Regions from separate parts of the Homo sapiens genome. Here region 2 is linked to region 1. Evidence: promoter capture Hi-C in 16 types of primary human blood cells and fetal thymus (Javierre and others, 2016). All regions are on one chromosome and are shown on one strand. The core of a region is centred on a gene start or on the middle of the fragment in contact, and the rest is flanking DNA. Distances in the headings are between cores, read along the strand shown.

Region 1 (3,845 bases), core at 636-3,135:
GCTGAGATTGCGCCATTGCACTCCAGCCTGGGTAACAAGAGCAAAACTCCATCTCAAAAACACAAAAACAAAAACATTCCCACATACTCTCTAACAGCGACTAGAGACACACACCCAAGACAACACAAAGACGGGTACTTCACAGTGTGCCACGCCATGCCCATGGCATGACCCCAGACACAGGGGCAATATGCGCACAGACACACGCACGCACACCCCATCTCATGACAAATTTGAGCCACATGAGTGGGGTTCCTTAGCTCTGTGAGTGGGAGAGTGAATATAGGAATGTGTAAGAGGGGCTGTTTTGCTGGTGCCATCCTGGGCCTGGCCTAATTACCCTGTCCAGGAGGGTAATTACTGCTGGGACACCTCCCCGAGCCTGGCCCACGGGGCCTAGCAGGAGGATGACTGAGCCCCAGGCCTGGCCCTTTAAAGAGAGATGCTGGGGAGGGGGTGGACTCCAAGCTGAACTGGGGAGGGTGTAGGGGCTTGGGGGAGGATGAGGGGGGCCCTGAGGGCCTCTGAGGCAGGATGTTAGGAGCTTATGGGGAGGCATTGGAAAAGGAGAGGCTGAGAACCCCGAACTAGTCCCTACCTTCAGGCCTGCACCCTACTTTTAGGCCTCAACACCCTCCCTACTCAGACCTTGCCAGTAGCCGGCTCCCATCCCCAGCCCTGACCTTAGCTCCTCCTCCCAGGGAATGCAGGTGTCTACTCTGGCAGGCCCTACTTTAGACATTTTGTAAAGACTTTTCTTGTTTCTTCCAGCAAGTCTGCTTCTTGCGGGAATATTTAGCCCTTCTCTGAGGCTTCCTGTCCCCGGCTCACATTCCTCAAAAACCCTGTGTGCTCCTGCTCAGAACTCAGCACCTTCTGGGAAGCCAGTGTCATCCAGGACCTCTGCATTTCCCCACCCCTTAGGCCCCAACCCTAACGCAAAGCTTCAAAGTCCAGGCCTCCATGCAGCCCTCCAACTCTGGCCCCCAGAGTTCCAGCCTCCCAAGTTCCCTGAGGCCCCTGGTCCCCCAGGCCCTCGGATCTCTGCCCTTTATACCCTCAGCCCCCAGTCTCTAAGGCCAAGACCCCACTAGCTCTCCCACCGGGCCTGGTGCCTGTCCTTCCCCTGCCCCCAGCCGTGCCCCCGGCCCTCACCCACGCGGAAGCCGGAGCCCGTGAGCGTGTCTGTGCTGTGGCCGTTCTCTCCGATGAGCGTCATGTTGGAGCCCTGCTGACAACTGTCCCGACACTGGCCCTTGAGACAGGTCCGCTTGCAGATCACCGGCGCAAAGACCACCTTGAAGCGCTCGCGGGCCAGCGCCCCGCCCCCGCCTGCGCCCCGCTCGCCGGCCGGCCCCCCCTCGACCCTGCCGCCCAGGCCCAGCAGCAGCAGCAGCAGCAGCAGCAGCAGCGCCAGCAGCCCCGCCGCCCCCGCCCCGCGCATCTCAGGGGCCAGGCCGCCAGCAGCCCCTCGGGGCCCGGGCATCCGGGGCCGCAGGACCCGGGGGAGGGGGGGCGCGCCCGGGCGGGGCGAGGGGCCCGCGCCCGAAGGGAGTAGAGGGCCGGGAGCCCCGGGAGAGGGTAGGGGGCAGCGAGGGAGGGCAGCGGGGGAAGCGGGCGGGAGGGGACCGCGGGGGCCCGGCGGGAGGCGCGGAGATGCAGACTGGACAGCGGGGAGCGCAGAAACTTCCCAGCCCCAGGACGAAGCCCAGACCAGGCCCCGAACTCAGGCAGGAGCGAGGAGGCCGGAGCAAGTTGAGGCGGAGAGGAGGAGCGAGGGAGAGGAAGGCCGGGCGGCCGGCCCGCTCCGCGCCTCCCCCTGGCCGGGCTCCTCTCCCGCGGCCGCGGGGAGGCAGGGAGCGCGCGGGGAGGGCTCAGGGAGAAGTGAGCAGTTGTTTTCCCTGGCTGGAGCGCGGCGCGGCGGCGGCGAGGGGGGCTGGGACGCTGGCCCCGGGCCAGGGACACAGTTTTTTTTTTTTTGTTGTTTAAAGCGTCGCCTCTGCCGCCTGGAGAAGCGAGGGTGTGCAGGCTGGCGGAGGCTGGGGGGTGGCGCGGGGACAGTCCCCACCCCAGATGCCCGCCCCCGCCGGAACCCGCGGCCGCGCTGGGCCCTTTCCAGAGGGCCCTCACCTGGGACCGTCTGGCCGGCCGCGGATTCCTCCGGGCGGGGCGGGGCGGGGAGGCCTGCGTAGAGCGAGATACCGAGGCTGAGGGAGAGAGGTGGCCCTGCCGGGTCACACTGACGATGGAGGCCGGGTGGAGCCGGAGCCCAGGCCTTCCAGCTCTTTCCCAGCCTCCCTTGCAAACGTGGGGGTCTCAGGGCCCCAAAGTAACTTCTCGTTAGTGCTGGTCCAATCCCCTCTGAGGAAAGGGCTAAAGGGTGGGGACAGCCTTTGGCCAGGGCTCACGGAGGTCCCAGGAGGAAGTCTGTGGGGTCCAGAAGAGGAGCAGAAAGAACAAAGCTAGAACCCAGCTTCCCTGCCAGCCCCCTCGGAATGGCTTCCTGGTGCCCACCCTGCCACCTCCCCCCTTTCCTTTCGTCTGGCCGTGCTGGCGGGGCTGGCTCTGGGCCTCAGACACTCTGGAATCGCCAAGGTCTGAGCTCAGGGCCTGGCCCCCTTCCCAGGCTAACAGCCGGGAGGACGGGGGCGCTGTCCGAGGGCCCAGGGGCTGGAGAGGGGCACAGCAGAGCCCCAGGGCAGGGGCTGGCAGCGGCTGGGGGTGGGGGTCTTCAGGTTGGCCATGGCTGGAGAGGAGCATAGTTCCAGACCAGGCTTGTCCGCTGGTCTGGAAGGAAAGGCTGCAACGTGCGGGGGCCCAGGCCTTACTGTGGGGCCTGCCAGGAGACCCCAGGGTTCCGTCTCTGACTCACAGAACTCAGCAGGAGGTGGGGACGGCTAGGGCACATCCAGGAAAAGCGCTGCCAAGTCAGGGCGGCACCAGACCCTCTCCCGGACAGCACCCGGGGCAGCAGTCTAATTGGGGAGAGGAGGTTCAGGGACTCACTTTCAGGCACACCTGTCCAAGGAACTCTGTTTTTACTTTGAGCGTAAGTTGATGTGGGTAGCTTTAGGGGGACGCTTAGTAAGTCCCCCTTACTAAGCGGTGCAGGGCTGGGAGGGACAATCACATGTCCCCAGGGATCCCTGCTGCCGGAATCCAGGATGGGGTGTGAGGGGCAAGCCCCTGCTTCTTGGGGCCCTGGTCCACACGGAGGCAGGGAATAATGCTAGGTGCCGACCACCTGCCAGGCACAGGGCTGAGCATTGTATACTCATTTTTTCCTAACACTCATCTGAACCTGTCCTGACTCTGCCTAGAGCTGGCTGTGGCTCACCATGGAGCACAGCACAGTCAAACAGTCCAGGGTTGGATTCTTACTGTCTCTAAGCCCCAGTTTCCTTGCTTGTGAGATGGGTATCTATTCACTCAACATCTATGTTCAACTACTGGTAATAAAAAACAAAAAATTAAAAAATAAATGTAAAAAATTCACTCAACAAACTGAGACTCCACCACATCCTAAGCTCTTGGCCACAAATAGAACCAGTCCTGCCTTCCTGGAGCTGCTGTACTAGGAGAGCTGGATATGTGCCAGATCAATTCACACAGAACTGTGGCTACAACAGAGGCTGGTACCGTGACAGAGAAGGGCAGGGAAGCAGGACAGGAGAGGGCTGGGACCTGGGAGACAAAGAGAGTCTTCCATCGGAAGCTGGAAGATGAGTAGGAGTGAGTCACACCTGTGGGCATCTGACCTCAGGGGAGGCTGCAGGGGGAGGCTATCCAGAGAACTGAGGGAAGGCCAGTGGAACAACAGGGTGTGGTGGAGAGGGAGAGCCGAA
Region 2 (3,845 bases), core at 772-3,271, 280 kb before region 1:
TGCATTAAACAAAGCCTGTTTTAAATAGACCTCTCTGTACGGCGTGTTTACAACCAGAGGATTAGAAGACCTCACTGTCATCTAAGCAGATCAGCAATATCCATGTGTTCTTAGAGGTATAATTTACCAGTCAGGGAGTGGAAATGTGAGAACTTGGCAGTTGAGCCTAGAAAAATGGGAATGTTTGCACATCACCAGACTGTTAATTCATTACTTACCCACCTCCATAGACACTGGGGAAAATTGATTAATTTGAATTTCATTTTATTGTTGTTTCTACCTTGAACCATATTGTGAGTTTTTATATATGCTCAGCAAGTTTTAGCTTATCCACAGTTGCAGGCTCAGATGATGTTCCAATAAATGCTAAAAATTCATGAGAAGAAAAAAATGGGACTTAAAGTTTGCCTTTTAATCAATTCAGAATCTGGGGATCTTTTTGCCTTGCTTAGTTTTAATGCCAAGAGAACGACAACTTTTTAAAATACGTTTCTGTCTCTAAACTTCTCTAAAAATGTTTGGTATTCCTCAGCCTGGTATTCCTCAGCCCTTCATTCCTGAAATTCCTTAAAGGTCTGGGTATGTCCAACCCCATTAAACTGATTCAATTTATAAACTATGAGGCCACCTTCCTTTTCTCCAGTCCCCATTTCCAAAGGTAACCTCATTTTATTCTTCTCTCCCTTTAGATATGAACACAGTAATATTAACCTGTTTTGCTTCCAATTAGTGCTACTCCCTCCCAGAAATACAACTCACGAAGTAACCGAGGAGAAGTGGTTACCTCCTTCGGCTTAGCACAGGGAGTATCTTGGTCTGGGAGAGGAGGAGCTGGAAACATCAGCCTGAAGGTCTTGGGATGTCCAGAGGCACTAACTGGGAGCTACAAATCCATGTTTCAGAAGCTCCCAGACATTCGAGAAGGTGATTGTTTTTCCCTTTGAAATTCTGGTGGATATAAAACCACCTAGAAGGGTGTAGAGTAACAAAGCTTCAGCTAGGCTGGTAGAACAAGTTCCAAGGTTGCCTTTCAATGTATGAGTTGGTAGATGTCCTCATGGAAGCCCTAGTAATGGAGGGACACGGGCAATACTATCAGTGATTGCCCCAAGTCACTTCACTTTGCTAAAACGCACATAACCATTCCCAGCAGCAAAAACTTGAACGATGTAAAGGAATTCAACTTAAAGATATTCATGGTTCCTTCGTTAGAAGCCTTCTTCAGGTTGGCCTTGACTTGCCTAAAACCTCAGTGAGGACTTGAGTAAAGGGCAGACTTGGAGATGGGGTGGGGTTCATGCTGATTCCCTGGAATTGTGCTATGGGGTCTCCTGTGGCCAGATGGAAGGCCAGATTCAGCAACCAAATATCGGAAAATTGGCAAAGGTTTTAGAAGGTTTAAACTGGCCAGATGTCCAGGCACCCTTCCTGCTTCTGTAAAATGACTGACTTTAATATTTTACAATGTGCTGTATTTTCTCTTCTTGGCAAGTGAAATGTCTTAAACATAATACTTTTTTCCACTTCTGGGATTGTAGTTCTGACCTGTAAGATAGAAGAACTTGGCAGCGAACTCAAGGAACATTACAAGATTGAAGCTTTCACTCCTTTGCTAGCCCCAGCACAGGTAAGAGTTGTTCTAATAGTTCTCACTAATTAATATTACGTTTTTAAATCGATGACCAAGAGGCATCCTTCTTGCTTCCTTTTTCACTTCTTGTCTGTGTTCTAGTTTGAACATCTGTCTTGGTTGAATTTGGGAAAATGGGCCCTTCTGAAGAAAGATTTGTAAGTGCTGTCTGGTTTTGTGGCCAGAGAGTGATTTTCTTCCCACTTGGATTAGAGTCTTGCACATAAGCAGAGACTCAAGGCCTTGTTTCCCTTGGTGGTGAGTCAGGTAGCTCCCCGGGGATTTCCCACAAATAGAAGCATTCACGTATCGAGATAAAAGGACAGCAGCGACGGTGGGGTTTTCAGAATCTTGTTCTCTGGACAATGACTCACAGTCTCTCCCCTGGTTTGGTCTCTTGTTATAGACAAACTGCTGCCAATAGTATCTTTATATCATAGTTTAATCTGGCATATATACCAGTGCTTTCTCTCTAGAATGTTTTCTAATCTAAGGGGAAATATATTCTAGAAGTTTCTTTAAAGTACCTTTGTCAATGTTTACATTCAAAGAATGATCAGTTGGGGAAGTGATGCAGAACTGTGTCATAGAAGGAAGTGTTAGAGGACTTGGAAGGAAGTAATTGAGGGAAGGCAGGGAGGCACAATCACTGGGAAAGATGAGACTTCCTCTGTTTTCTCCCAAGAGTGGGAACAGAACAGAGGAAGCCATGGAGACAGAGATTTTAGCTCAATTAATAAAGAACTTCCTGTTAAGAGGTTGTATGGTATGTGGCTAAGGATATGGCTCTAGAGCCAAATTTCTGGTTTCAAACCCAAGCTTCACCCACAGTTTGACCTTGACTAAATTATCTAACCTTTCTGTTGCTTGTTTTCCTCATCTGTAAAATGGATACAGTAATATCCACCCGATGGTTGTTGCAAGGATTAAATGAGTTAATACATATAAAATGCCTAAGAATACATTTTAGAACAGTGCATGGTATTTAGTAAGCTCAAGAAATGTTAGCTATTATTAAGTAGTTATAGCTGCCCAAAGATGCAGTGGGCTGCCCTGGGGTGGTGAGGACAGGGTGGGGTAGGCATCCAGGGGCAAGTTCCCCTACACTAGAGATGCTCACACTTAGGCAGCCTCCTAGGAAGGCTCAAGTGCTGGGTGGATGGGTGGACAAGATGCCCTTTCAGAGTTCTTCCATCCTGAGAGTCAGTGATGACGCGGTAGTCACCTCAGGGTCAAAGCAATGCCCTGCCAAGAAATGTATTTGTTGTTTGCAGTTTGTTTTGCTATTCACCCTATCGACTTCAGATTTTGAGCTCCTGCTCCAAAGACTGTCATTCTTATGCTGTGACCTTCCTTTGGTAGGAGCCTGTCACTCTGCTGGGCCAGATTGGCTGTGATAGCAACGGGAAGCTGAACAACAAGTCAGTGATTCTCGAGGGAGACCGGGAACATTCCTCGGGTGCTCAAATTCCAGTGGATTTATCTGAGCTTAAGGAATATTCTCTGTTTCCTGGACAGGTGAGATTGGAGGAGTTCCACCAGAATGCAGGCGCACTCTTTACCCCTGTAGTGTAGGTGCTGTGCCATGCGCAGCTGCTCCTCAGTTCCTGTCTCTGCTGCCATGGGGTGCAGCTGGAGCACATGCCCCAGAGCAGACACCACTGTTGGGATTCCTGTTTCCCCCATGCTCTGACCCAGGCTCTGGGACCTGACTGCGCAGCCTCAAATCCCAACTCCCCGCTCCATGAGGTGCATGACTGTGCACAAGGTACTTAACCATCTAAACTACAGTTTCTTCACTCACAAAATGGAAATAATAATTCTTACCTCATAGGATTGTTGTGAAAATTAGATCACTTATATAGAGCATAATTATTATTACTAATGCAACGCCCTTAATTCGTTTTCTACAAAAATGCCCTAAGTTTATGATTACAGAATGAGAGTAGTTGGACAATGCTTTTAACTGCCTCAAAATAATGTATTCCAGACCTCATTGATCTCCACTGCTTAGCAATCCTGTTTGTTTTTGTCTTTCAGGTTGTAATTATGGAAGGAATCAACACCACTGGTAGGAAACTTGTTGCCACCAAACTCTACGAGGTACACAGCAGTACCCCCACTTGCCTCTTGGTTTGCTTCAGACAAAGTATGTCTGGAAGCTGTCTGTTCTAGAAACTGGTCCTTTTTAGGAGCCCATTTATTTGTTAGTCAG

The links. The method cuts DNA at HindIII sites, captures the fragments that hold promoters and counts their contacts. A CHiCAGO score of 5 or more calls a contact.
Region 2: a fragment that was not itself captured here is called in contact with the fragment with the promoter of LTBP3 in region 1 in 1 of 17 cell types (monocytes); the score reaches 5.2 in monocytes.

What each region holds. Positions count from the first base shown.
Region 1 is chr11:65,556,474-65,560,318 of GRCh38, forward strand. It overlaps LTBP3 (latent transforming growth factor beta binding protein 3), which reads right to left and starts at 1,886. Exons shown (of 28, transcript NM_001130144.3): 1 at 1,156-1,886. The coding sequence starts at 1,486. RefSeq lists silencers at 1,715-1,954, 2,005-2,164. The HindIII fragment of the contact is 7,741 bases long and covers 943-3,845 here.
Region 2 is chr11:65,278,000-65,281,844 of GRCh38, forward strand. It overlaps POLA2 (DNA polymerase alpha 2, accessory subunit), which reads left to right. Exons shown (of 18, transcript NM_002689.4): 6 at 731-924; 7 at 1,539-1,627; 8 at 2,993-3,148; 9 at 3,671-3,733. Among named protein-coding and RNA genes, the nearest start is that of POLA2, 18 kb to the left of the region's middle. RefSeq lists an enhancer at 1,271-2,470. The HindIII fragment of the contact is 851 bases long and covers 1,597-2,447 here.